Linked DNA regions of Homo sapiens: regions 1, 2, 3, 4, 5 and 7 are each linked to region 6. Evidence: promoter capture Hi-C in 16 types of primary human blood cells and fetal thymus (Javierre and others, 2016). All regions are on one chromosome and are shown on one strand. Each heading gives the region's core, a stretch centred on a gene start or on the middle of the fragment in contact. The rest is flanking DNA. Distances are from core to core; before and after follow the strand shown.

Region 1 (3,782 bases), core at 433-2,932, 350 kb before region 6:
ATCGCTTGAACCCAGGAGGCAGAGGTTGCAGTGAGCCGAGATTGTGCCACTGCACTCCAGCCTGGGCGACAGACCAAGACTCTGTCTCAAAAAAAAAAAAAAAAAAAAAGTTCTTAGAGTGCTTGGCACATAGTAAGCTTGATTTTTGACATATTTGTATTATTCATATACAACCAGGGAAAATGGGTGTTCTGTTTTAGAACTAGAACATTTTCTCCCCACAACCTTTCCTTCGACAGTAATGTTTAAATATTGTTTCTCTTAGAAATGATCAGCTTCTAGAGAATTCGAATCTCTATTAATAATATACCCACCATGAATGAAATCCCTGGTAAAGCGCTGGCTTCCCTGTTGGTGCATTTCCTAAGAACCCCCCTCTTTCAGCCAATTCCTCAGGGTTCCCTTCTCCCTGTGGCTTTCAGGTCAAAGCCCTCCATCCCATCCAGGCCAATACTTTTATAAGGGTCTGGCAGACTAGCTCATTCTCCCCTCAGGTGAAACTTTTCCCTCCCCTCCACTTATCTAAACCCTATTTACCCAAGGTCTAGTTCAAGTCAGGAGGCTTCCAGAAGTGCTTCTGCAGCTGCACTGCTGTTGGCCATGGAATGCAGGCTGGAGAGCCCCTGGAGAAGGAGTAAACGACGAAGATGGATGCGTTCCACTACCCAGTTACTGGTAATGCTGAGTTTCTGAGCTCACAAAGGATATTTGTAAATGTTATTTACATAGTTTATTATTTACAGTGAAGCCTAGGCACTGAGATTCTGGGCTACTAGACCTGACAGACACCCGGGACAGCGGTTTGCCCATCTGTAAACTGGAGGGGGAAGTGGGGAGGTATAGGCTCTCGGAAGTTCCGTCCTGCGCTGCGATTTTCAGACACTAGGCCAAGACACTCTGCTTCTTGGCCTCGGAGGACTAACTTTAACCCCCCATACCCTCCCTCTCAATGTCCTCATTGTCCTTTCCGTAATTCCTTCTGGCTCCACCCTAATGTGTGCTTCTGTGAATTGCAAGCTGGGATGGGGGAAGAAGACCGGCATCTTTTTTCGGTTGTAAATTCCCTTTAACGTTCGCTTTCAGAACGCTGTAATTACTTAACTCCTCTGAACTTTCACGGGTCACATTCTCGTACCCGAACTATACATTCAGAACTAAGATCTGATCAGCTGCTTCCGGGCCATGCCCGGCTTTGGAAAGAAACGGGGCGGTTGACACGCTCCCACGATTTGCAAGACTGGGAATCCTCATGGTCGGCCACACTCGGAGAGCGCCAGGGGCGGGGGAGGGGAGCGCGGGGCCGAGGGCCGGGATCGCGATACCTGCTGTAGCCTGGACTGGAACGCGCGAGCGACGGGCGTGGCGCGGGCTCCCGGGGCCGGGGAAGAGGCCTTGGCTGCTGCGGGTGGACGAGGGCGCGGGTTGGGGCGGAGCCGGGTCACCGGGTTCCGGGACTGTCCCCAGATAAGCAGGGTGGCGGCGAGGGCCCCCGCACCTGCGCTTGGCCGCGCTGAGTGAGCTAATCTTGGAGCCTCCAAGGCGGCTTCCTGGCACCGCCGCGCCCTTCTGCACCCAAGCGAGAGTGGACGGGACCTCCGTCGCCCGCCCCAAATGCTCTGAAGAGCCCGGAGCCTGGTGCCCGGAATGTGGCGGCACCGGAAAGCCGGCTCTCGCCTGGCTGTGGTCAGTGACTCCCGTGTGGCCCCGGCTGACGCCTTCGCCCGTGCTCACGTCCGACTTTGTAGGACTGTAGTGGACCGGGTGTGCCCAGATGCTTGAAGAGCGTACTGAGTGTGCCGCCCTTGCCAGGGTTCTGGGCCCTCACGCATAAAGTGGGATAATAATATCTGCCTCTTAGAATGGTTGTTAAGGATTCAGTTAGTTAATTTTAACTAGTCATTTATTTGGCAGCAGCGTAGAATTCTTGTATCCTGATCGTAAATAAAAGCAAAGAAAAACGAAGAGTATTTTTGTCTAAATACATTAATCATGTCACTTTTAAAGCAAATCAGAATCACCATATGCAAATATTCTATATATTTCTCCAAAGTTTTAAATTTGCTATGCCTATTTTCTTGCTGTAATGACTAGCCTTGGTCTGAGAGCTTTTTAAAAAATTGATATATAATTTATATATAATGAAATGTCCTTACACCATAATCGAGATATGAAATATTTCCATCACTTTAAAACATTCTCTTGTGGCCTTCCCAGTGAATAACCATCTCCATCTCCAACTCTAGCCTAAGTGACTTTTGAGTGTTTACAAAAATCAAGTTCACCAATAAGGGAGGCAGAGATCACCTCCAACCCCCTACACCCTCTAGCTCTTAGTGAGCTAATCAGCTGCATCTAGAAGCCAAATTGACACTAGGCAGATTAACAAGAGAAAAGTATACAAATTTTATTAATTTTACATGTACATGGGGATGTTAAGAGACTGAATCCTGAAGAAAGTGTCCAAAGCAAGATGCTTTTATACTTTTTAGAAAAAGAGTGATAAATTTAAGAAGAAGTGACAGGACAAAGAAAATCCGGCTAGGGTGGTAAAAAATTTCTAGGGGAGCCCCTAGGAGATATATGGGGGGTGGGGTGTAAAACAGGTGGAAGATAATGGTTACTTTGCAAGAATGTTTACTCCAGTCCAAATGCCACCTCCAGTTCCAAATCTCTGGTGATGAGAGCTATTTTCTCGCTCTGGCGTGGAGAACATACCTCTCCTAGAGGAATCTTTATTGCTGGCTGCATGCAGGAAGAGACAGCTCAGCTCCTGTCAGGGAACCAGGCTCATTTGTCTTTCACACAGTATGCCAATCACTGAGGCGCACAAGTTTTGCAGTAGAGAAAGGGTGTATTCACAAGGCAGCCAAGACAGGAGACTGGAGAACAGGCCTCAAATGTGCCTTTCCAAAGATGGAATTTTAGGAGTGCTTATGGGATAGGGGAGGAAGGTGGTCCAAGGTTCAGAGAAAGATGAGGTAAGGAAAAGTGAGGCAATCGGTAATCTGAGCAAGCATAGTCAATCTTCATGGCTGTTCATAGAACACATGTTCACAAAATCGTGACGTTAGCATGATCTGAGAGTGGAGTTTTGGGCCTTCTGATGTCAAAAGGTCACCCATTGGACACTCACGCAGGCCAAGATGAAGGGCTGGTGGCTTGAACTGGACAAGAACTGACTCTAAGTTCCTGAAAAATAACTTAAGCAATATTTTCCATGGTGTCCTATCAGAGAAGTTATCTATAAGGAGGCAAGTGGAATTTAGTTATGTATCGTCTAGCTACATGACTTTTAGCTATGCAGGTTTTAAAATCGACTAGAAGCAAGTGACCAAAAGCAAGCAAGGCAAATTAAGTGTCAGGCCTAATCAGGTCAGCCCTCAGTTTTACCCTTTCTGAAACTATAATTTCTCTAATGTTTTCAACTCAAAGTAATCAATATATTATATGGCATATTTGGGGATGGCACATCCTTCATTCTTTCAACTGTCAAAGATTTTCAGCCTCTGAGGATGCAGTCAAAGCAAGTTCTGTAGTAAGAGACATTTTGAATAATAAGCATCCCGATAAAACTCAACACAGTTTCAGCTTAAGATGTCTGCTGAGGATATTGTTCATATTATGTAGTGATCTTTCTGTGAGAATCCATGGGAAAGGGTGATTTTTTGTTTTCGTTTTTGACTTAAATGTAAAGAATAACTGGGGCTGGGCACAGTGGTTCATACCTGTAATCCCAGTACTTTGGGAGGCCAAGGGGGACAGATTGCTTGAGACCAGGAGTT
Region 2 (3,844 bases), core at 266-2,765, 270 kb before region 6:
ACAGTAGCACACGCCTGTAGTCACAGCTAACTTAGGAGGCTGAGGTAGGACTTGAGCCCGAGTTCAAATCCAGCATAGCAACATAGCAAAGATCCTGGCTCTAAAAATAAACAAATAAATGTTTTTTTAAAAACGCACTGGGAAAGTTCACTATGCAGTGGGTGGCACATGCCAATCTAAAATAACAAGGAAAAACTACTATTTAATTCGATTTGTTACTCTCAAATGCATAAGAAGCTAGAACTGCTAATGAAGCTTCCAAGATGTCATCCTGAGACTGCTCTAACAAATAGCTGTCTTAAGTATTAAGTTACTATAAAATAATTGCCCTTCTAGGCCGGGCGCAGTCCAGCCGCGGTGGCTCAGGCCTGTAATCCCAGCACTTTGGGAGGCGGAAACAGGCAGATCACGTGAGGTCAGGAGTTCCAGACCAGCCTGGCGAATGGTGAAATCCTGTCTCTACTAAAAATACAAAAATTAGCTGGGCATGGTAGTGGGCAACTGTAATCCCAGCTACTCTGGAGGCTGAGGCAGGAGAACCGCTTGAACCTGGGAAGTGAAGAGTGCAGTGAGCCAAGATCGCACCACTGCACTCCAGCCTGGGCGATAGAGCGCGACTCAGTCTCGAAAAAAAAAAAAAAAAGAAAGAAAAATACGAGTTTGGGCTGGCGCGGTGGCTCACGCCTGTAATCCCAGCACTTTGGGAGGCCGAGGTAGGCGGATCGCCTAAGTCCAAGAGTTCAAGACCAGCCTAGGCAACATGGTAAGAACCCTGTCTATAAAAAATACATTAAAAAAAAATTAGCCGGGCGTGGTGGTGCGCGCCTGTAGTCCCAATTAATCGGGAGGCTGAGGTGGGAGGATCACTTGAGTCCCAGAGGCAGAGGTTGCAGTGAGCCGAGATAGCACCACAGCACTCCAGCCTGGGCGACAGAGCAAGACCCTGTCTGGAAAAAAAAAAAAAAAAAAGAAAGAAAAAAGATACAAGCTTGGGTTACAAATATCAGAACCTCAAATATAATCTAAAAATGAAGCACACCATCCTTGGTGTCCTAAGGCTGACCCAGGCTGCCCACGCTGCAGGACACCGCTTTCGCGGCCCCCTACCCCACTTCACACCCTAGGCACTTTTACTCTTTGCCAAACAGCTCCCGGAGGCGGTCCCATCCAGATTCCGGGTAATAGGGCTCTGGGACGTAGGGAAGCCGCTTCTGACGCTCCTCAAGGACTTCCGAATCGGCAGTCACAGCTTCGGCAGCAAAGACTCGGGGAAATAGGCACAATGCTCTACAGAGAAAGCTCCGCGGTGCCGGTGGCGGCACCTCCATGGCCTTCTCTCGACCTACGGACAAACTTGAGCGCTCAGGACTTCAAGTCCTCGCGGACGTGCCGCGGGAGAGCGTAACTGTACGAGGTGAGAATCCGTGCATTTGACCCAGGTTAACCCTCTGCCAGAGGGCTCGACACCCACACCTTCAGTCCCCGGCCTCGCTTTGGAGTCCTTGGAAATACGACACAGGAAGTCCCGCCCGACCGGGGCAAAGGCCAGGGGGCGGGGCGACGGCGAAGCCGGAGCCCAAAAGACTTCCGGTTGAGGGCGGGTTGGGCCACTGCTGTGCTGAGTGCACCCCCGGAAGTGAGTTGGCTGCCAGTAGTGAAGCTCAGCGTGGTCCCGGCAGGCCTTCGCTCCGTGTTTGTGGTTCCTGGGTCATGCAAACGGTGTCTGCGGCTACTTATATTCAGCTTGAGGTGGTCATAGGTTGAAGTAATTTATCGTATTTAAAATGCCAGGAATTAGCCGGGCATGGTGGCGGGCGCCTGTAATCCTAGCTACTCGGGAGGCTGAGGTAGGAGAATCGCTTGAACCCGGGAGGCGGAGGTTGCAGTGAGCCGAGATCACACCACTGCACTGCAGCCTGGGCAACAAGAGCGAAAATCTGTCTCAAAAAAAAAAAAAAAAGGCAGGAATCCCGCTTCAGTAAGGAAGAAAGTGCAATATTCAGTGCAAGTGGAGTAGGGAAAGAGGGAAAGGCGATTTGTGCAAAAACAAGTCCAACCTACTCTGCCAACATTAGAGAAGCCTTCCAGGCTGGGCGGGGTCCGTTTGTACCTTGTCAGTTCTGCTGGAAAAAAAACGAGGCATTGGGGATGGGTGTTGGTGCCAGTTACACTAAGATTTCGAGAACACTTTTTTGAAGAATCAGCTTTTTGGCAGGTCTTCCTAAGGTGGATTTCACTCCCTTTAGTTCATATGCCTACTGCTTCTCAAAAGGCAGGAGAATTTCTGGAATTTCTATCAAGTGTTTGTATAATTTGCCGTCACTACAACCTCTGCTAACATATGCTTCGAAGTACAGTTTTCATTAAAATGAATGCATTTAAAATATTCTCAATATTCGTGTAATTTCATTCAATCCTTGTTAACAAGCATACTCCCTTATTCATTTTGCCAATCCCTTCACCTCCTTGATTCCTTTCTAGTTGTCAATCAAAACTGCCACACTGTAGTAGAATACAGTAAGTGGACTTAGGAATTTGATAGCTGGAAATGCTACACATAAGTCCCTGAGAAGTGACTGACTAGAGTGACCAGCTCAATTAGTGACAGCGCCATGAAGACTACTCTGGGATATGAGATTTGATTCAGCACTCATCGTAGCACTTACAACACTGCATCATAATTTCCTATTAATCTGTCTCAATAAACTATCCTTGAGATCACAGACCAAATATATTCATCTCTGTATCTCCAGGACCTAGAACCGCAGTAGGTGCTCAGTAAATATTTGTTGAATAATTCAGATCTCCTGACTTCTGGCTCTGGATTACTGCTTATCCCATGTTAGGTAGAAGTGGGCACCAAGATAAGTTACCAAGGCCTGAAAGCCCAAGAAAATGGCTGTACAGTCTGTTTCTAACCTATATGTAGAAAAAGCTAAATGCATAAGATGACCCCAGAATTATTCTGGGGTGAAGGAGGACTTGAAATGGGTAGGAGGGTTTGGGTGGGTGTTGGGAAGATACTGACACAATCACTTATGTACAACTCAAATGCCCCAGGATTCACTAGCCTGTAGATGAGGTAATATTAACAGGCAAATTTTAAATTCCATAACTTGTTTCTCATTTGGGTAACGGAAGACTCATTTGTAATGTTCCTTTTGCCACCTGATAACTCAAAAAACTCCCCTCTCCTTTGGCTACTGCTCGCACTGTTGCTGCTCTTCCATCTGAGCCCTCCCACATTTCCTACTTCCCCAATCCCTTACGGCTTACCTTCTTTTAGAACAAGGGAAATGCTCACCCTCCTCTGTAGTCTGCTTATTTTATTTTATTTTTGATACAGTCTTAGCTTCGTCACCCAGGCTGGAGGGCAGTGGCAAGACCTCGGCTCACTGCAACCTCTGCCTCCTAAGTTCAAGTGATTCTTGTGCCTCAGCCTCCTGAGTAGCTGGGATTACAGGCATGTGCCACAAGCCTGGCTAATTTTTGTATTTTTAGTAAAGATGGTGTTTCACCATGTTGGCCAGGATGGTCTCAAACTTCTGGCCCCAAGTGATCTGCCTGCCTCAGCCTCCCAAAGTGCTGGGATTACAGGTGTGAGCCACCAAGCCCAGCCCTGTAGGCTGTAGTCTGCTCTTTTTGAAGGTTCTCCGATCAATACAGTCTAAGCCAGAGGTGTCCAATCTTTTGGCTTCCCTGGGCCACATTGGAAGAATAATTGTCTTGGCCCACACATAACACTAACTGTAGCTGATGAGCTAAAAACAAAAAACAAAAAGAAAAGAAAAAGAAAAAAGTCCATGCATAAATCTCATGTTTTAAGAACGTTTACAAATTTGTG
Region 3 (3,533 bases), core at 908-3,407, 480 kb before region 6:
GGGCTAATTAGTCAAGAAGCACGCCACCCTAGTCCCTATCATAGTAAGAGAAATCCATACACAAGAGGCTTTCTGTCAGATGGAAGGAAGCAAGCATAGAGATGTGTTGCTTAATGATGGGGATACGTTCTTAGAAACGGGTTATGAGGTGAGCTTATCGTTGTGTAAATATCAGAGGGTACTTAACATAAACCTAGCTGGTATAGCCTACTCCACACCTAGGCTATATAGTATAGCCTATTGCTCCTAGGCTACAAACCCATACAGCATGTTATTGTACTGAATACTGTAGACAGTTGTAACACAATGGTATTTGTATATCTAAACACAGAAAAAGTGATGCATTGGGCTACAATGTTATGACAGCTACAATGTCACGAAGTAATTGGAGTTTTTCAACTTCATTATAATCTTATGGGACCATCCTTATACATGTAGTCCACTGTTGACCGAAATATCATTACTTGGGGCTTGATTATACATAGAAAGAAGGCTAGAGTTGCCAGATAAAATACAGGATGCCCAGTTAAATTTAAATTCAGATACACAATGAATAATTTTTTAGTATAAATGTGTTCCAAAATATTGCACAGGACAAAAATTTATACTAAAATATTATTCATTATCTGAAATTCAAGCTTAACGGTGCCTCTTGTATTTTTATTTGCTAAATGTGGCAACCCTAACAAGGTGAAAGGTCATAAGGTCAAAGAAAGAAAGCAGGAGAGCACAGCATCTTAGTTCTGATTTTCCCCATCCAGGTTCTCATCCGCCCTGGCTATACTTCGCTTCCTGTCCATGACTAGCGGCGAGATTGTTTTATAACAATCCAAACTTTTATTTGATCTACTCTGAGTGAATTTCTGTTCTTAGCAAGGGACATGGAAACATTTAGCAATTCCTCTGCAAAAGAGACACTTCGGCATCAAAGAAACAACCAGCTTAATAAATACTTTGGGGAGATGTTTGTCCTCCTTCTCAAATTACCCGTGAAAAAAAAACATGGTGATGTGTTTACAGGAGCTAACTTGATTTATTTCACAAAACCAAGAGTAAATACAGAAAAACACTGGCCAGAATATGTCAGCAATCATTACACAGCCTCTATCTAGGAATGTGTACCCTAGATTCCCACACAAAGGAGACTGGGATTCCCAGAGGCAACACCACATTGCTGAAAGCAATGCAAGGTTCAGGTGAAAAACCTGGGATTGCAGAGGGCAAAATTGGAAAAAATCATGCTTATAGCTGGTTACAGTTCTTGCCACGGCAAATTCAATAAACATTTATTTATTGAAGCGCCTAGTATATGTATCAGCACTAGAATAGGTGCTCAGAAGGCTACAAAAATGTGTAGAACAGGAACTTAAGGAACTCAAGGAGCGTGGAGAGAGAGAAAACATAAAATGGACAACCAAGCCGTTAAAATAAACTGGGGTTTTATTGGCCCAAGAGGAGCCAGCGGACCCAGTCTATAAGCAATGCTTTGACGCAGAAGTTAAAAAAAACAAACAACAACAACAACAAAAAACCTAAAAACAAGCATGGGATAAACTGGCACTTCTTTTCGCCCAACTTGGATTTGCCCAGAGAGTTGGAGAGAAAAGATCATTTTTGTAGGGCATTTTATGCAGGAACGTTGAGTGAATCTCCGAGTGTACAAATCGTTGCACACTTTCTGGGTACCAAAACGCCCGGAACAGGTTTCAGGAAAATCGCCCCCCGAAGCGGAGCGCACCCGCGCCTTTCGATGTACCCGAACCCCCGACCCCAACCTGAGTGCGGCCACCTGGAGGGCTCGGAGCTGCCCCCACCCGACCAAGGACAACCGTGGGCAAGAGGTCAGTCCAGAGGGTCGTGTTTCGTTCGCCATGCCCCTGGCCAGGTCCCACCATCTGGGAGCCCACCTGGCCTAGGAGGCGACGGACGCGGAGGAAGGTCTGCGGCGGTCCTTACCGTACAGAAAATCATACGCTCGATTGGAGGAGATGTGGCTCCCAGCCCGCGACCTCTCCCGGTACCGAGTTTGAGACACCTGCGGCTGGGCCTGGGGCTCCTCGATGGTTACTGCGTGGCTCATGGTGCCGCCTCTTTCCTCCCGCCAGCAAGGGACCAGCGGGTCAGGCCTGGCTACTGCGTGCACGTCGCTATGGTAACGGCCGCCGGCGCGCAGGGATAGGGGGCGGGGCAAGGAGGAGGGAGGAGGCCGCGGGGCGGGGCCGAAGAGGAGTGGAGAGAAGTGAAAGCAGGAGTGGCCAGGCCAGGGTCAGGAGGAGAGTGGAGGGGAAGATGAGAAGAGAGGGGAGGGGCAGGATGGGGGAGGAAAAGGCTGGCTTCCCTCTATACTCCAGAGCCAGCGGGGAGGCTGGGAGAAAGCTACTCTTAAGTCATTGATTTGCCAGTTACACCTCGTAGCCTCTCGGAAATCCCTGGGAGATCTCAGAACCTTCTAGAATAATTGGGTGCCTCCCCGCCCCTCCCCCCAGCCCTTTTCCAGGGGGCTTGTCCCGAGAGCTGCGGAATCCAGTCAGGTTCCTAAATGTTGCTCCTTAGCACGCTGTGAACTTTGCCCCACACTCATTAGCATCAGTGTTTAGGATGGGTTAGGACATCAGTAACTGTTGATCTGAGACTGCTGACCCTTTCTGAGTCCTGGGCATTAAATAACAGAAGATGATGTGGGGTAGGCACTGGCTCTGCTTTTGAAAACTATTTATAATGGAAAATTTTAAACATAAGCAAAAGTGATTCTACTTTTAATAACAAACCCTCAAGTAACCCATCCCTCAGAATCAACATTTAGCAACATTTTGCCAATCAAGTTTCAGTTTCCTTCCCCTCTTTTTTAAAGAAATCCTAGACATAATATTATTTTACCCTTAAATTAGTCTGCATCTCAAACTGACATAGATTTTAAAAATTTAACTACCGTTATCATATCTAACAAAATTAACAATAATTCCTTAGTACTATAAATAATTCCAATTTTCCTGTTTGAGTCCAAATTATCTTTTATAGTTGGTTTGTTCCAGTCAAGATCCAAAAAAAGTCCTCATGTTGCATTTTGGTATGTCTCTTAAGTCTTTTATCCTAGAGCAGTGAATTTCTAATCCTTTCAATAATTCTCTATTATTACCAGAGGTTCTTCTATAAAAGGAATCTTTTCATACCAACTCATTGGTTATCCTGAGATAACCAGGATAATCTCATAGAGGAAAGACTGGGTAAATGCTGGATTTGTTCTTTTTAATTATGAAATTTCAGAGACATGAGTTGGTGCCCTACCAAACTCCAGAGTTAACCACAAAGTTTTTGTTTGTTTGATATCATTATGAATGCATGCATTTTTTACAGATCTGATGTTTTAATCCGTTATGATCATTATTATTTATTACACTCAGATTATTAAAGCTAATGGCATGCCTTAGAGTTGGCTTCTTTGTCCTTTAATGTTGAGACGAGAAGTCTTCTTCCGATCAAAGGTTTTTCTCGATCGAAGGGTTCATGGTCTCACAGGCTTCAAGGAATGAAGC
Region 4 (3,847 bases), core at 880-3,379, 350 kb after region 6:
GCAGGAATCAGTTATTCATAGCATAGAATGAGAGACGTAAGGACACCAGTCTCTAGAGTCACTGTAGTATTCTGTAGTTCATGTGAGCATGGCCTGAGAATTCAAGCTAGCAGCTCTAGGGGTTGTTGTTGCTGACAGCACACCCTTTGTGGCAAACCACATAGGAATTAATAGTGACTTCCACTCTGAAGCTTCTACCCTTTGCAGCAACAAGGCTGTTACTTCCCTGGAATTATAGGTTTGTACACTTAATCTGCTTAATTCCCATAGAGAACCAATGTGGTTTCTCACTGCCGTGCTGAGATCCTCTTTCCAACGCCTTTACAAAGATAGCATCCCCATTCCCAGACTTCTTTTCTCCTCGACCAGGCAGCCTGGTGAAAATGTGCAACAGTTCTAGAAAAGGGGCGTAGAAACACAGATTCCTTTTATTTATTCTAGACCGAAACTGGGGGCTCATAGTGACATCCAGTCACAATTTTATTTTGTCTTTTTTGGCTTACCAAAGGCTTAGCTTCTCTCGATTTATTTATAGAAATCCACATATCGAAGGAGAGAATAAGGGTAATTTTTATGTGATACAGGTCTTTGCAAGAATTTGCAGATGGTACATACTTTTGTCTCTCATGGAAGATATGCAGTTTTTCTTTTGGAAAGGGTACAGAAAGACCTGGCTACACCTTTCTAACAGATAACGATTACTTTCTATTTGTTCAATTTAGTCCCATCAGAACTCCTTATATGACAGTGCCAGGAGATCTAGGCCCCATTTAGGATATTTTTTGGAGAATGTCTTATACGGCATTTAACATAAGTGTGTTGTGACCTAATCCAGAGCTCTTTTACAGGAAATTCTCAGGCAATTAATTTCATTGTCCATGACTATAGTTGGTTCATTTTCTCCCTTTCAGCACTCTAAGAATTATGGCGATTTCTTATCAAAGAAATAGTTAATTTGAAATTTTACTTGGAAACAGCACACAACGAACATAAATTTCATATAGAGGCCCAAATGTCTTGTGTGGCCAACTGTGATGTTTTTTACCTTGTCCATGTAGCTGACGCCTTGGCAAATATTTCCTGGGCCTCCGTGAGGGGCATCATCTAAGTCATCTGGAATCTATTCTTTTCTCCAACTCTACTGCCAAAAGCACATCTTTAGATCTTTAGTTGTTGTTTGGGATTCTGGGTAATATAGAAACCCACTGCTTACATCACATGGCTTTCTATTTAGGACTTAAAAGAGAAAGGAACTGCAGTTCATTTTCTCTGTGTTACACTATTTTTGATTCTCTTTGTTTTTCACCAGCTATTTTCTTCCACTCATGTGCACAGTATTTCTTTTATGAACCAGCTGCCCTGCTCATTTTAAATTGAGATTGTTTTACCCAATTATTCACCTTCTGCCTCTCTTTACAATGCTTCCTACATTGTAGCCACATTGCATTATTAAACATTTTCATGATAAGCAATTCAGAGCAGTATTCAAAATTAAAAACATTCATCCTGAGCCAAATAGGAGCTCTAGTTTATTGGAACGTGCTTTAACAATAATCTGATGTTTCTCAGAAGGTTATCAAATTCCAGTCTGAGTTTCTGGATGGTAGATCTCTTTTTAGGATCCCAGCACCTAGTTAACCTCTTCTAATTTGCCATTGGTTCTTAGCAATTTGGTTCATGCTAAAGCTTCTTTGATTTCAACAGCTGATTTTTTATTAGAAAGTTTTCCCTAACTTCTGTCTCTCTCCACACCTCTTTGAGAAATAGGAGCAAGTTTGCTTCCTACCTCATCCATTAATTCTAGGTGAACTACATTGTACTATTGTATTAATTAAAGTGGGCATTTATAATAATGCACCAAACTTAGCATTGTGTAAGTGAACAGGAAATTCTCACTATTGTTGGAAAAATTTAAAAAATATTACCCTTTGAGACACTCTCTAGGATAATCTCAAATCCTTCATTATGTGCTTCTTAAGTAAATGGCATTGCCTTAAAAGAGCTGTATTTCTTGTCTGTCCAAGTCTACCTTTTAAGTGACAAAATTGCAACAATGGTAAATGCATTGCTTCCCGTGTCCTCCAAGACTTCACAGCTCATATCTCAATACTTCAGTCTCTCAAGTGCAAAATGAGGATAATAGTTTACAGCATTTAAGATGTGAAGCACTTAGAACAGTCACTGAAACATTATTCAATGCACACTAGCCACTATCACTATTATTTGAAATGTCTCATTGTTATAAATACATATTTTAAAATGTGTGCAAAGTCAACATTGTATTTAAGACTATTGCATTCCCCCAGTGCCACAGTACCACTAATTGAATTTGTGATTTAGGTCTCTCCAGGCAGAATTCAAGGCTGTGGCTCGGCTTTAATACCATCTAGATATTGGATTCCTGACCTGACTTGTTGAGTCTTACCTATCCTGTATTCTTTTTCAATTGTCTCTGCCTACCAATTGAGATAGCCTCCGATTTTACCTGTGCTCCTCCTCCTCTTTCTCTCTCAGCCACTGGTGAGTATTTACATGAGCTAAGATTTAGGAGTGCTGTAGATCAGGAAGCTTTGTTGGCATTAGTGGCTGATTCAGTTTCCCCAGTGCCTGTCCCCTGTGGCTGTGCTGAGTGCTCTCCTGGACCCTCCTCTCTGGTCACATCCTGTTCTAAGTAATGGTCCATTCAGATGTGATCTTAGTCTCATCGTTTTAGTCCATTTGTGCTGCTAATAACAAAATACGACAGACTGGGTAATTTATAAACAATAGAAATTTATTTCTTACAGTTCTGGAGGCTGGGCAGTTCAAGATAAAGGCACCAGCATTCAGTGTCTGGTGAGGGCCTTCTTGCTGTGTCCTCACATATTTGCAGGGCCAAAAAGGCAAAAAGACCCTAAGCCACTTCCCTCCAGATCTTCTATAAGGCACTAATCTGTTTATGAGAGGAGAGCCGGAATGACTAATCATCTTCCTAAAGTCCCCACCTCATAACAACACCACCATGGGGATTAAGTTTCAACATATGAATTCTGAAAAACATTCAGACAATAGCACTTAACATTTAAAAGTTGCTTAATTTCAAGGCCAAAAATTAATCTTATGTTTCAGAATATTATTCAAAAATCCCTCACAAGCAGTTTAACCTCAATGTGATATGGAAGACCAGTGGTCATTACAAAGTATGTTGTTAGAAGTCTTTACTATTTCCCAGATGACTGGAAATATGGCCTTACACTAGAGTGACCCTATTACCAGCTCACTCAGGTTAGTCTCAGTTTATATTTGTAGCCTAGGAATTATTAATAGTGTCCCTCAATTACTCTCAGAGTGTCTTAATTTGGGCAATAAGTTTATAAGGTCACCACAGCTTGAAATGATGTCTAGTAGTCATCCTCCAAATTATTTTATGTCAGGAGTTCACAATCTAACATCAGTTTTCCGTAGATCTTCACATTCACATTACAGCTTTGTTGACTCTTTCAACATCTCTATTTTAATAGCTCTGAGACAAAACTTCAGGAAAGTTATGTTGCTTATCTTAGAAACCTAACTTTCATGGTGAAAGGATATGATGAAAATAGGAATCTCCACCACAGAAGAATAGAAAAATCTCTTCCTAGGAGATATCTTTTCCTGAAGCTTTTTTTGATTGCCCAAGACAGGAAAATAAATCTTCTGTGATTATATAAGATAATGTATACTTATCATAGGATATACATATCATATTCAAATTAATTTTGTCCTGTGACTATGCTCCTTGAAGATGGGAACCATTTTGTAATTATTTGCTTCTTGAAGGTGGTAACTATTTCATAATTATTTGTGTTTTTCCAGGCCTCACACATGG
Region 5 (3,478 bases), core at 344-2,843, 460 kb before region 6:
TCTCAGATGAGACTTTGGACCATGGCCTTTTGAGTTAAAGATGAAATGAGTTAAGACTTTGGGGGACTCCTGGGAAGGCATGATTGGTTTTGAAATGTGAGGATATGAGATTTGACAAGGGCCAGGGGCAAAATGATATAATTTGGCTCTGTGTCCCCACCCAAATCTCATCTTGAATTATACTTCCATAATTCCCACATGTTGTGGAGGGACCCAGTGGGAGACAATTGAATCACGGGGATGGTTTCCCCCATACTGTTCTTGTGGTAGAGAATAAGTCTCACAAGATCTGATGGTTTTATCAGGGGTTTCCACTTTTGCATCTTCCTCATTCTCTTTGCCTGCTGCCATCCATGTAAGATGGGTCTTGCTCCTCCTTGCCTTCCACCATGATTGTGAGGCTTCCCCAGCCATGTGGAACTGTAAGGCCAAAGGCCAATTAAACCTCTTTCTTTTGTAAATTGCCCCTTCTTGGGTATGTCTTTATCAGCAGCATGAAAACAGACTAATACAGGGTGTGTGCAATTGACCTTTTTCTTCTTTCTTTCCTTTTTTTTTTTTTTTTTTTAAGGCAGGGTCTCACTTTATCACCCAGGCTGGAGTGCAATGGAGTGACCTCGGCTCACTGCAACCTCCGCCTCCTGGGTTCAAATGACTCTCCCTCAGCTTCCTGAGTAGCTGAGATTATAGATGTGTGCCACCAGGCCTGGCTAATTTTTGTATTTTTAGTAGAGACGGAGTTTCGCCCTGTTGGCCAGGCTGGTCTCGATCTCCTGACCTCAGGTAATCTGCCCACCTCAGCCTCCCAAATTGTGGGGATTACAGGCGTGAGCCACCATACCCAGCCACAACTGACCTTTTTCATCCAGTGATTAGCCTGGCTTTCTCCCACAAGCATGTGGACAAGTTGATTAAGATCAGAGAAGCTGGGCTAGTAAGCTTCAATTGTAATGTTAAATTCATCAGCAAAGCAAAGAGGGTCCTGGGTAACTTTAGGAAATTCCTTGGCTTTAACATGGATTTCAGCCTTATTCCAAGGGCATAGACAATCTAAGGAACCTCAGGATTGTTAGTGGGTCTAACCCTACAGGGACAAGTTTTTATAGGTTGAGGATGGGGATCAGAAGCTGGGAGGGTAGTAGGGGAGGAAGTATCAGGATTGAGTGGGGTTTTCAGAAAGGGAAGGGTAGAGAGGAGAGAGAGGTGGTGGTACCAGGGGAGCAGAAAAACTCTGAGTTTCTAAGGCCTTTTAAAATCTTCCTTTCGTTGTTTATCTGTCTTAGTTAACTTAGTGATGGTATTTTGGAGTTAGGTGATTTTTGAGGCTTGAATACATTTAGATGCTTCAAGATACCACTTAAAGTTTATGCTCCTTTCAGGCAATTTAATTTTGTAGCCATGGCCTTCTAATTTAGTTCTAAGAAAACAAGTTAGGGAGTTCAAGAGATGGCCATTGTAATTCCAAATTTTCTTTAGTGTAATTGGTCCATTGCGATAAAAAAAGAATAGGAAGATGGACCATAATAATTAAGCATATAACAAGCTAGAGTCCCCAATGTTGGGGGGCTATTTTGGTATATCTTTGAATTTGGGGAGTTCATTTGTAAATAAACATATCCAAGTGAGTCAGTGCAAAGCCAAACACACAAAAGCCAAAATAAAAATCAAGCACACAAAATGAACCAAAGAGTAAAGTACATACTCACCGGGAAGAATGACAAAGCCTTCTTCAAATCCCTTACAAATAGAGGCCTAATAAATAGGAGAGGAAAGGCCCTTCATAAAGAAATCCCAAATAAAGCTGAAGAACTCAAATCCAAAAAAAAAAAAAAAAAAAAAAGGGGTGTTTAACCCAAGAAAGACTCACTGGGGTGAAAAAAGATCACCAGCGGAAGTAGGGGGCTCAAGGGGTCTGACAGTGAGTACTGCACACCATAGTTCCAGGGGCCATTATCTTTCCAAGTGAATCTGCTTTGCATCTCACTTCTGACACCATGTAATGTCAATAACAGATAGAGACTAATCTCCAAGCAAAAAGAGTTTATTTTGAAATAAACAAAGAAATAGGATTGCAATCTGGGACAAACATACAAACTGAAGTGGTCTCCAATATATTCAAAAAAAAAAAAGGAAATGGTTGAGGTTTCATTGGGAAAAGAGAAAGGTTATTGGTGCTTGTGGCATTTTGCAGGAGCTGGCAAGCTCTGATTGCTGGGTGGCAAAAGTTACTAGGTAAAACAAGCTTTGAAGTCATGGCAGCCATTTGTTGTCAAACTAGTCTTAAAATTGTAGCAGCTGTTTCATTGGATTGGGCTTGTGGGACAGTTTCTGGAGCAGGCTTTTGAGACCTGAGTGTTTTTTCACCCCTATGGTCCTCTAACTCTAAATTTTAGTTGGGTATAACAGGAATGACTCCATTTGTATAATCAATTTTTCACTTTAGATAATCGACCTGTGGTAGACAGATTCTTAAGGTGGCCCCTGGATCCTGACCTCCTGGTGTTCATGTTCTCATGTGATCCCCTCTTTTCAAGTATTTTAGCCAATAGAATATGCCAAATATGATATGATAGATGTAATTACATGGTTCTCTTACATAAGACTGTAATGCCCATATTTCTGGGTGGCTCTCTATCCCTTGCTGGCTTTGAGGAAGTAAGTGACCATGTTGGGAACCCTATTTGGCAAGGAACTACAGGAGGCCTCTAGGAGCTGAGGGTAGCCTCCAACTGATAGCCAGCAAGAAACCAAAGCCTTTAGTCCTACAATAGCAAGAAACTGAATTCTGTCAACAACATAAGATTGGAAGCATATTCTTCCCCAGTAGAACCACAGATGAGACCACAGTCTCAGCTGAAAGCTTGATTCAAGTCTTGTAAGACCCTAATCAAAGAAGTCACTTAAGTAATGCCCTTGACTACAGAAACTGTGAGATAATAAATATGTATTACCACCAGGTATGTGGTAATATTGTTATACAGCTGTATTAGTCTCCTTGGGTTGCAATAACAAAATACCATAGACTGGGTGGCTTAAGCAACAGATATTTATTTTTCACAGTTCTGGAAGCTGGGAAGTCCTAGATCAAGGTGCCGGTCAATTCAGTACCTGGCAAGGATCCTGGCTTTACTTCTGACTTGCAGAGTGCTGCCTTCTTGTTGTATCCACACATGGGTACAACAAAAGGACTCTGGTCTCTTCCTCTTGTTATAAGGGTACTAATACCATCATGGGGGCTCCATCTTCATGACATCATCTAAACCTACTTGTCTCCCAAAGGCTCCATCTTCAAATATCATCACACTGGGGATTACGGTTTCAGTATATAAATTATGGCAGGACACAAACATTCAGTCCATAGTAATAGCAATAAATCACTAATACACAACCTTCGTGAAATCAGGTCATGTCATTTAGGTTACTTGTATTAAAATAACTTTGATATTGGAAAGGGATGTTAGTTCATAAAATTTAATTA
Region 6 (3,501 bases), core at 959-3,458:
GTGTACCCCTTTCCTAGTTGAGTCACAGTCCTGTATTGTATTCATATTGGCATGCTGCTTCTCTTTAGTCATGGAAGAGTCAAAGTGTTATTCCTGATTGTGTATTCCTTCACAGATTATACAAGCTGCGATGTAAAAATGAGTCAGGGAAATGCAAATTTTACTGGCTGATTATTCCCCTTGCTTAAAATGCTCACAGTATATTTAAACAGTAAATTCATTCATAAAGAATAGAGGGACAGTGATGCATTACTGGGCAAGTACTGGACTAAAGGTGATGTGGTTGGTGATGACTTAAAATGGGCCATTAGTGACCCAAGGAGGGGCAGATCTTGAGAAGATGTTGGGGTAGGGGGAGTGATAGGGAGACTGATAGAGAGTAAGTGGAAGCAGATACTAGGTTAGGGCACGTAAAAAGTTATGACGATGAGAAGGTGAGCCGGGGGACTAGTTTATATTAGACCTGTTGCGTGAGGCTCTTTGAGCGCGCAAGAACAGAGACACAGTCAGGTTAACGATGGGGATTGTGAACAGGCCACACAGGAGACCATCTCAACAGCTACCCCATTATCTCTGGTAGCTCGATAGCCCAGCATCAGCTCTAGTAGTTGTCATCTGTGTAACTCCATTCCTTACTGTTTGTTTTTAGGGCATTACTGACTGCTGTGTCTTGCATGTAGACCCTGCAGGAAGGCTCTCGTAGGCCAATTATTCTCTTTGGGTGGCTTGAAGAAGTTACTTACCTTGCCTGCTGTTGAGCAGAGCACCAAGGTGCCATTAGACACGTGAGCCTGGTCTAAGCAGCCATGGCCAGGGTAGGGGATGGTTACATGGAACAAGTCATGGCGACTTTCGCACAGGAAGGGCCTATGACTGCTTTACTCAGAAGGGGATAGCTCAATTTGCAAGCATCTTGAGATTTTACAGCCTGACCAGTATACGTGGAATTTAGAAACAAACAAACAAAAAAACCTGAGCTGTTTTCCTCCTGTGGATGGCTTTGGGTTTCATCTGTTTGGATTGCTTCCAGACACTGAGCAAATACTGTGCTCGATTGGAAACGTCTGTTGTGGTGGCAAAATGGGAGAGTTGTTGCAGTGCCACACATACCTGTTACAGCTGGGTTAGGGAGGGAGACTGGTTTCTACTTCTTTTTAGTGCTTTGCTTACAGGGAGCCAGGGTGGTTCCAGAGTTTAGGGAAGGGGTGGGAAGAGTGCCTTGTCCAGGAGCTTGATTCTGTGGAATGCTGTTGATATTTAAGAGATTTTCCCCTCCTCCTGGAATTTGGTGAAGGAAAAGAGGATAGACCAAAGTTGAAGTTACTCTGTCTAGCCCTGCCCTTTGCTCTTACCAGAGTTCACCAGGATATTCCCTCTTACAGATGGATCATAGAGCAAGTTGATTACCCAGCCACAAGGAAATGCTTATATTATATATCCACCACTTGCTTTTGCAGCCAGTAACCTTAGTGACATGATGCTCTGGCCATTATCATGACTAAATGAGCCTTTAAAGTAATCATAATAAAAGCTGACATTTGTAGTACTCACTGTGAGCTGGGCAGTGTTCTTTCTATGCATATTAGCTCGTGTAAACCTCAACACTTTTTGAAGTAGCTACTGTTATTGTCTGTGTCCTATGTTCATTGTAGGAGGCCAGAGCAAGCTCATTTTCAAACCAGATCTCACTTTGGAAGAGGTACAGGCAGAAAATCCCAAAGTGTCCAGAGGCCGGTATCGCCCTCAGGAATGTAAAGCTTTACAGAGGGTCGCCATCCTCGTTCCCCACCGGAACAGAGAGAAACACCTGATGTACCTGCTGGAACATCTGCATCCCTTCCTGCAGAGGCAGCAGCTGGATTATGGCATCTACGTCATCCACCAGGTGAGCGTGGGGGCAGACCAGGGCCTGCCCTCGACCCTCCTCTTCTCTGCCAGACTTGGCCATGTGACTGTTTGTCTATGTTGGGTAAAAGGAACATCAGACTATCATCAAAAACGAGTTCTCTTACCTCATTTATCCTTGAAAGGAGTAGAGGAAATTCTTGTCTCAGAGTGTGGAGTTATGGGTTCAAGTTCTGGGAAATTTTACTGCCCTTAAAGGAACCTCTGGAGGAAGCCTGTTTTGTGAGCCCTTCCATGTTAGCCAATGACTGCCCTCAGATTTCCCCGGAGGCTTCCTGGCCCCTTCTGTTTCTTTCTGTGCGTGCCATGCACTATATGATGAGATTCTGGAATTGTCTGTCATTATCAACCATAGCAACTCAATGGGGATCTAGACAGAGGATTTGAAAGAACATTCTGTATTAGTAGCTGTGGTGCTCTATGGCTGCCACCACATTTCTGCCCTGAACTTTGCCACTATTTATTATGTGAAACATATTATGTTTGATTTTCACTTTCTGGATTCATCTATTTGACTTCCAGAAGCATGATTTGGTAGGAGCACAGCATAACTATCGGCTGCTTTTGAAGAGCTTACCTCTGAGGTCAGTGGAGTGGATGATTAAAGATACCTCTATTTGGCATTAAAGTTTATTGAAAGAAAACTAAGACATCAGTTTAAACATCAGTGTCTAAACTTTTCACAGTTATCCTTGGCCATCCAAGGAGGCCAAGAAGAGGGATAATTCCCCCTCAAATTCTTATAAATTCTAAGAATGTCAGCAAAATCATCACTACTGTTAGAACAGGTAATATTTCTTTTAGATAAAACTTTGGACAACTCAGAGGACCAGCTCTGCAGTATAGACTTGGTGATAAACTGAGGCTCTTGAAAATCAGTGTGCTTATATAGCACACCTATGTCTGTATTTTAGTACTTGGAACAAAATGTTACTATTATATTGTTTTATAGCTATTTTTGTTTTTAAGGTTGTTGGTCATAGTTATGATTTATTTGATTCTGAGTTCTTGCTCAGGACAGTAACCTACAAGGTATAGTACTATTTTTATGAATAGAAAAACATGTTTGCTTTGGGCCAGGCCCGGTGGCTCAGCACTTTGGGAGGCCAAGGTGGGTGGATCACTTGAGGATAGGAGTTTGAGACTAGCCTGGCCAGCATAGTGAAACCCTGTCTCTACTAAAAATACAAAATACTCTGTTAAAATACTAAAAAAAAAAAAAAAATTAGTTGGGTGTGGTGGCACATGCCTGTAGTCCCAGCTACCCAGGAGGCTGAGGCAGGAGAATCACTTGAACCCAGGAGGTGGAGGCTGCAGTGAGGTAAGATCACACCACTGCACTCCAGCCTGGGCAACAGAGCGAGATTCCATCTCAAATTAAAAAAAAAGAAAAAGAGAAAGAGAAAAATATGTCTGCTTCGTGTTATTCTTATCAGGAAAACATTGTGGTAACTTCTGAGAAATACTTGCACTTTTATGATAAACCACTTAACTGGAATTCATTCTGAAGGAATTTGAATGAAGCAGCCATGAAAAAATTATTTAATTTTTTTATTACAGCTTCAATCATATTACAGGTCAAACTGTGTTCTTTTA
Region 7 (3,755 bases), core at 1,218-3,717, 330 kb after region 6:
ATAGTACCCTACTATTTGAAAGCTTTAAGGATTCTCAATTGTGTATTAAATAAAATTGTTACTCCTTGCCTTGACTTACTCAGTTTCTTCCACAAATAGTTCACTGCCTCTTTCATTCTTAACGTCTGCGCCTCCTCTACATGCAAACTTTGCTCCAGACCTGTTCACCTTCCCTTGAAGTAAATTTTTTTCTTTTTGTTTCCATTTTTCCCCCCGCTACAGCTTCCAGCTATAATCTCCACCCAAATCTTCTGGTACCACAAGTCCAATTCAAATACATTGTCCTCTATAAATTCTCTTTTTCAGTCTAATGAGAAGTGACTGTCCTCTCTAAAGAGGTATAGCGTTTACTACCTGTAATGGAATTTCCACAGTTTGTATTATATTTCTGTATTTGTGTACATGATTGATCCCTCCTGCTGGACTATAAAATGAGTTATTCCACAATCATTTTTGATCCTTAATTATGTGCTAAACATTGTTCTGGGTGTTGAAGGTAAAAACAGAGAAGTAACTGCAGCCATATTCTCAAAAAGTCCATATTGCAGGAGGGATCCACATCTGTGAGCAAGTAGTTGCAAGTCGTGTAAGTATATGAGTGGATGTTTATGCAAGTTCAAGCATATGGGACTACTACTTCTATATCTTGGTTGTGGTCACAACACTTAACACGTTGCTGTATTCAGAGAAAGTGCTTGAAGGATGCGCTAAATTCATGAAACTGAAAATATATGATTTGGTCTCTTAACTTCAGTGTTAAAAGTAGCAGTCAAATATTAGAATATTCCCAAAGCAAGGCCACATCAGAGTCATTTACTCATGTGGCAAATGATTGTGCCAGTTCCTTGGGGGCATTTGATGTTATATTAGAGATGCAGTATTGTTTGGGAAAGCTGTGGAGATAACATTCTTAATGCAGTGGTTTGGAAGAATCTTAAGTAATTATGAAGGGTTTTGTGTGAAAATATCTGTTATGCTTATTACATGGCAGTACATGAAAAAATGCATTTCAAGTACTAATTTATTTAATTTTATCACACTTCTACATGGACGCTATCATCACTCATATTTTACAAGTTCAGAAACTGAGGTGGTTAAACATTTTTCCCAGACTATTCAGTAATCTGTCAGTTGCTTTTCTCAGTAGATATTTCTGTCTGACTGAACCAATGTCTAAAAAGAAAGATCTGGGATCCTCGTCGTTTTGCCTTCAAATAGCCCTCTTTTGGACAAATCACTTGTGTTAAGTAAGATGATATTCAACTTCACAGAAAAAATGCTGAGACAATAAATGCAATTCAGAGAAAAGTTGACTTGTAAATTCTATGTGTATACAGCTATTTATAGCTTTTCCTCACAGCTTCCTTGTGAAGAAGGTATTATTTCCCTATTTTAGGTAAAGGCAAGGCACAAAATTCTGACTTAATCATAAGACATTAATGATAGAGACAAGTTTATTAAACAAAGCAATAAGTATAGTGCCTACTATGTATTTAACACAGTGAGGTCAGTTGATACCTGATTAATTTTAGGAGGTCAGATTAGAATAGATAATTTAGCTTATTATAACTTACATTGAAGCCATATTTCTCTATCATCCATCAGTTGCTCCCTCAGTTTATCAGATTTGCAGCAGTTTTGCATTTGAGGCTTGGACAAGATTGTATGCCTATATATATATATATATGTATGTGTGTGTGTATATATATATATATGAATGAGCTTCAGTTGTCCATTACATTGGACAAACTACAAAATTCTCTAAGGCTCAGTTTCATCTACAAAATAGAAACAATATAATAGTTATCTTTGAGATTGTGAGTACTAAATGAAATAATGCACATAAGATGAATATCATGGTGTCTGGTGATAGTAAACACTTGATATTTGCCATTATTCGTAGTAGTTCAGAAGCTTTAAATTTCTAGGCAATAGCTATGTCATTTACACCTACTCAGTATTTCAACTCTTTTTGCCAGAAGTACTATTTGAGTGCTACTGCATATAAAATAGCAATTTGGGACATTTTTTTGTTTAAGAGAAAGGAGAAGCCTCGGTAATTATTGTCTACCCAAATACTTTCTCCTATTTCCCTTTTCCTCACATTTTGTTCCAAAATAACACACTTATCTTCTGATTACTATCAATTTCAAATCGCTGAGGATAATTAAGAGGGTGGGAGAACATCAGCATTTATAGAGCACCTACTGTATGCTAGACAGCATACTGGACACTTTGTGTATATCCCATAGAATCCTCAACACTTTCAATTTTAGTACTGTATTATGCTAATTTTACAGATGAAGGAACAGGCTTTCATGGGTTAAGTACCTTGCTCAAGGTCATAAAGCTTGTAAGATGTAGAGCCAAGGGCATTGCTCATCTGTTGCCATATACTGTCCTTCCATTAAGATAGCCAATAAATAGTAAAGGTCTTGGTACTGCCTCAAATTTGGCCTGGCATAGACAAGAGTTCTTTATTCTTTCTAGTCATTCTTTGCCCATTAAAAAAATTATTTAATAAAATTACCATCTCTGACTTATAAGACTATTAGAATAATTTTTTCCATGCGGTCAAGCTTTTTGAGTTTTTCTCCTCTTAATTTCTGCACACTCGGGGGGGTCTCACAGCCGTTTAATTCTTTCTCATCACTTTCCTAGGGCATTTGCAATTTGTGTAAAACACTAGTTCCCTTACCACCTTCAGCTCTACAGTCAGAGCTATTGCTAGGGGAGGATGCGTTTGAGGAAATTCCCGTAGGCGAGAAGTTTTGAGGGGAACACAGAGGTCTTTGAAGACATGGTGAATTTGGAGGAAATTCTACGTAGAAGGATGCCTTTTGCTACCCTGGGCCTGCACTTGAGTCCCAGCTCCGTCACTTCCTACTGACTTGAGGCAAGCTGTTTAGCCTCTCTGGGGATATAACATGGAGATTATAATTGCTACATCATAGGTCTGAGGATACCATTAGATAATGTATATAAAATGGTATAGATAAATTGTAGCTGTTACTGGTTTACTTTTTAAGTCATGTATTTGAATTTTATAAGGAGAAAAACGGAAGTTCTACTGGAGAGATTAGAGAAGACCTGAGTCTCACATACAACCAGGTTGTAACTCTTTTCTTCACCTCCCCTCTCTCAGTCATCCAGAGATCAAGGTGTGTTCACCCCTCCAACTTCACAGTGCTGATCCTGTATTATGATGTAAGTAGAGGCGAGGCTGTGATTTCTGAGCCCCAATCCCTTTAGTATAGAGATCACAACCTGAAATGCCTGTGAAGGTAAAGTAAATGAGAGAACTGGGCCAGATGGGGAGCATGGTGACTTGGAGATTTATGCCCTGCCTAAAGAGGTTAGCAGCTACTCAGCTCCCACCAAGAGTGGTCAGTAGGACTTGGGTCCAGGATGGCCAGGTCTCTTGAATCTTCAAGAGAAGCCAGAAATGCTTATTTGTATCTCTCTTGGATTGTATATGTCGGCAATGAATTTTTTTAAGTTAAATCCTGCTTAATTATACATTCCTGTGGGTCTGTGTGGCCTGTGGTCCAGTATTTACAATATCTGTTATTAAGCAGACTTGTTTCCAGCAGCTTCATGGGTGGATCCAGCTTGGAGCTCTCCTCTTCTGAATAGTATCGAGTAACAGGAAACTATGTGTCAGGTGCTGCTCTAAGCATTTTACATCTATTAAATCATTTTAATCCTCACAACCACTGTATGAGATAGGTACAAACACTATCCCATTTTGCAGA

The links. Contacts are between HindIII fragments. The CHiCAGO score rates a contact against its expected background, and 5 or more counts as called.
Region 1: a contact is called between the fragment with the promoter of ADPRH here and the fragment with the promoter of B4GALT4-AS1 in region 6, in 2 of 17 cell types (naive B cells and erythroblasts). The highest score is 5.1, in naive B cells.
Region 2: the fragment with the promoter of TIMMDC1 here is called in contact with the fragment with the promoter of B4GALT4-AS1 in region 6 in 9 of 17 cell types (activated CD4 T cells, naive CD4 T cells, naive B cells and 6 more); the score reaches 9.1 in activated CD4 T cells.
Region 3: the fragment with the promoter of CFAP91 here is called in contact with the fragment with the promoter of B4GALT4-AS1 in region 6 in 1 of 17 cell types (total B cells); the score reaches 5.2 in total B cells.
Region 4: a contact is called between a fragment that was not itself captured here and the fragment with the promoter of B4GALT4-AS1 in region 6, in 3 of 17 cell types (naive CD8 T cells, total CD4 T cells and total CD8 T cells). The highest score is 6.9, in naive CD8 T cells.
Region 5: a fragment that was not itself captured here is called in contact with the fragment with the promoter of B4GALT4-AS1 in region 6 in 7 of 17 cell types (erythroblasts, megakaryocytes, M2 macrophages and 4 more); the score reaches 8.3 in erythroblasts.
Region 7: a contact is called between a fragment that was not itself captured here and the fragment with the promoter of B4GALT4-AS1 in region 6, in 7 of 17 cell types (total CD8 T cells, non-activated CD4 T cells, total B cells and 4 more). The highest score is 10.1, in total CD8 T cells.

The regions. Positions count from the first base shown.
Region 1 is chr3:119,577,392-119,581,173 of GRCh38, reverse strand. It overlaps ADPRH (ADP-ribosylarginine hydrolase), which reads right to left and starts at 1,682. Exons shown (of 5, transcript NM_001125.4): 1 at 1,323-1,682; 2 at 538-623. RefSeq lists enhancers at 533-752, 1,693-1,792, 1,577-2,078 and a silencer at 1,373-1,512. The HindIII fragment of the contact is 4,349 bases long and covers 140-3,782 here.
Region 2 is chr3:119,496,218-119,500,061 of GRCh38, reverse strand. TIMMDC1 (translocase of inner mitochondrial membrane domain containing 1) reads right to left here and starts at 1,515. Exons shown (of 7, transcript NM_016589.4): 1 at 1,135-1,515. The coding sequence starts at 1,328. RefSeq lists an enhancer at 1,726-1,775. The HindIII fragment of the contact is 2,873 bases long and covers 991-3,844 here.
Region 3 is chr3:119,701,646-119,705,178 of GRCh38, reverse strand. CFAP91 (cilia and flagella associated protein 91) reads right to left here and starts at 2,157. Exons shown (of 18, transcript NM_033364.4): 1 at 1,957-2,157. The coding sequence starts at 2,080. It overlaps LOC105374064 (a long non-coding RNA gene), which reads left to right and starts at 2,136. Exons shown (of 3, transcript XR_924391.4): 1 at 2,136-2,683. RefSeq lists enhancers at 1,839-1,898, 1,949-1,998, 1,992-2,671, 3,338-3,533 and a silencer at 2,109-2,278. The HindIII fragment of the contact is 3,012 bases long and covers 641-3,533 here.
Region 4 is chr3:118,872,820-118,876,666 of GRCh38, reverse strand. No RefSeq gene overlaps it. Among named protein-coding and RNA genes, the nearest start is that of IGSF11-AS1, 68 kb to the left of the region's middle. The HindIII fragment of the contact is 882 bases long and covers 1,689-2,570 here.
Region 5 is chr3:119,682,778-119,686,255 of GRCh38, reverse strand. No RefSeq gene overlaps it. Among named protein-coding and RNA genes, the nearest start is that of COX17, 7.1 kb to the right of the region's middle. The HindIII fragment of the contact is 1,303 bases long and covers 942-2,244 here.
Region 6 is chr3:119,225,193-119,228,693 of GRCh38, reverse strand. It overlaps B4GALT4-AS1 (B4GALT4 antisense RNA 1), which reads right to left and starts at 2,208. Exons shown (of 4, transcript NR_046574.1): 1 at 2,013-2,208. B4GALT4 (beta-1,4-galactosyltransferase 4) reads left to right here. Exons shown (of 8, transcript NM_003778.4): 4 at 1,653-1,885. RefSeq lists a silencer at 3,234-3,406. The HindIII fragment of the contact is 1,940 bases long and covers 1,760-3,501 here.
Region 7 is chr3:118,890,780-118,894,534 of GRCh38, reverse strand. No RefSeq gene overlaps it. Among named protein-coding and RNA genes, the nearest start is that of IGSF11-AS1, 50 kb to the left of the region's middle. The HindIII fragment of the contact is 229 bases long and covers 2,353-2,581 here.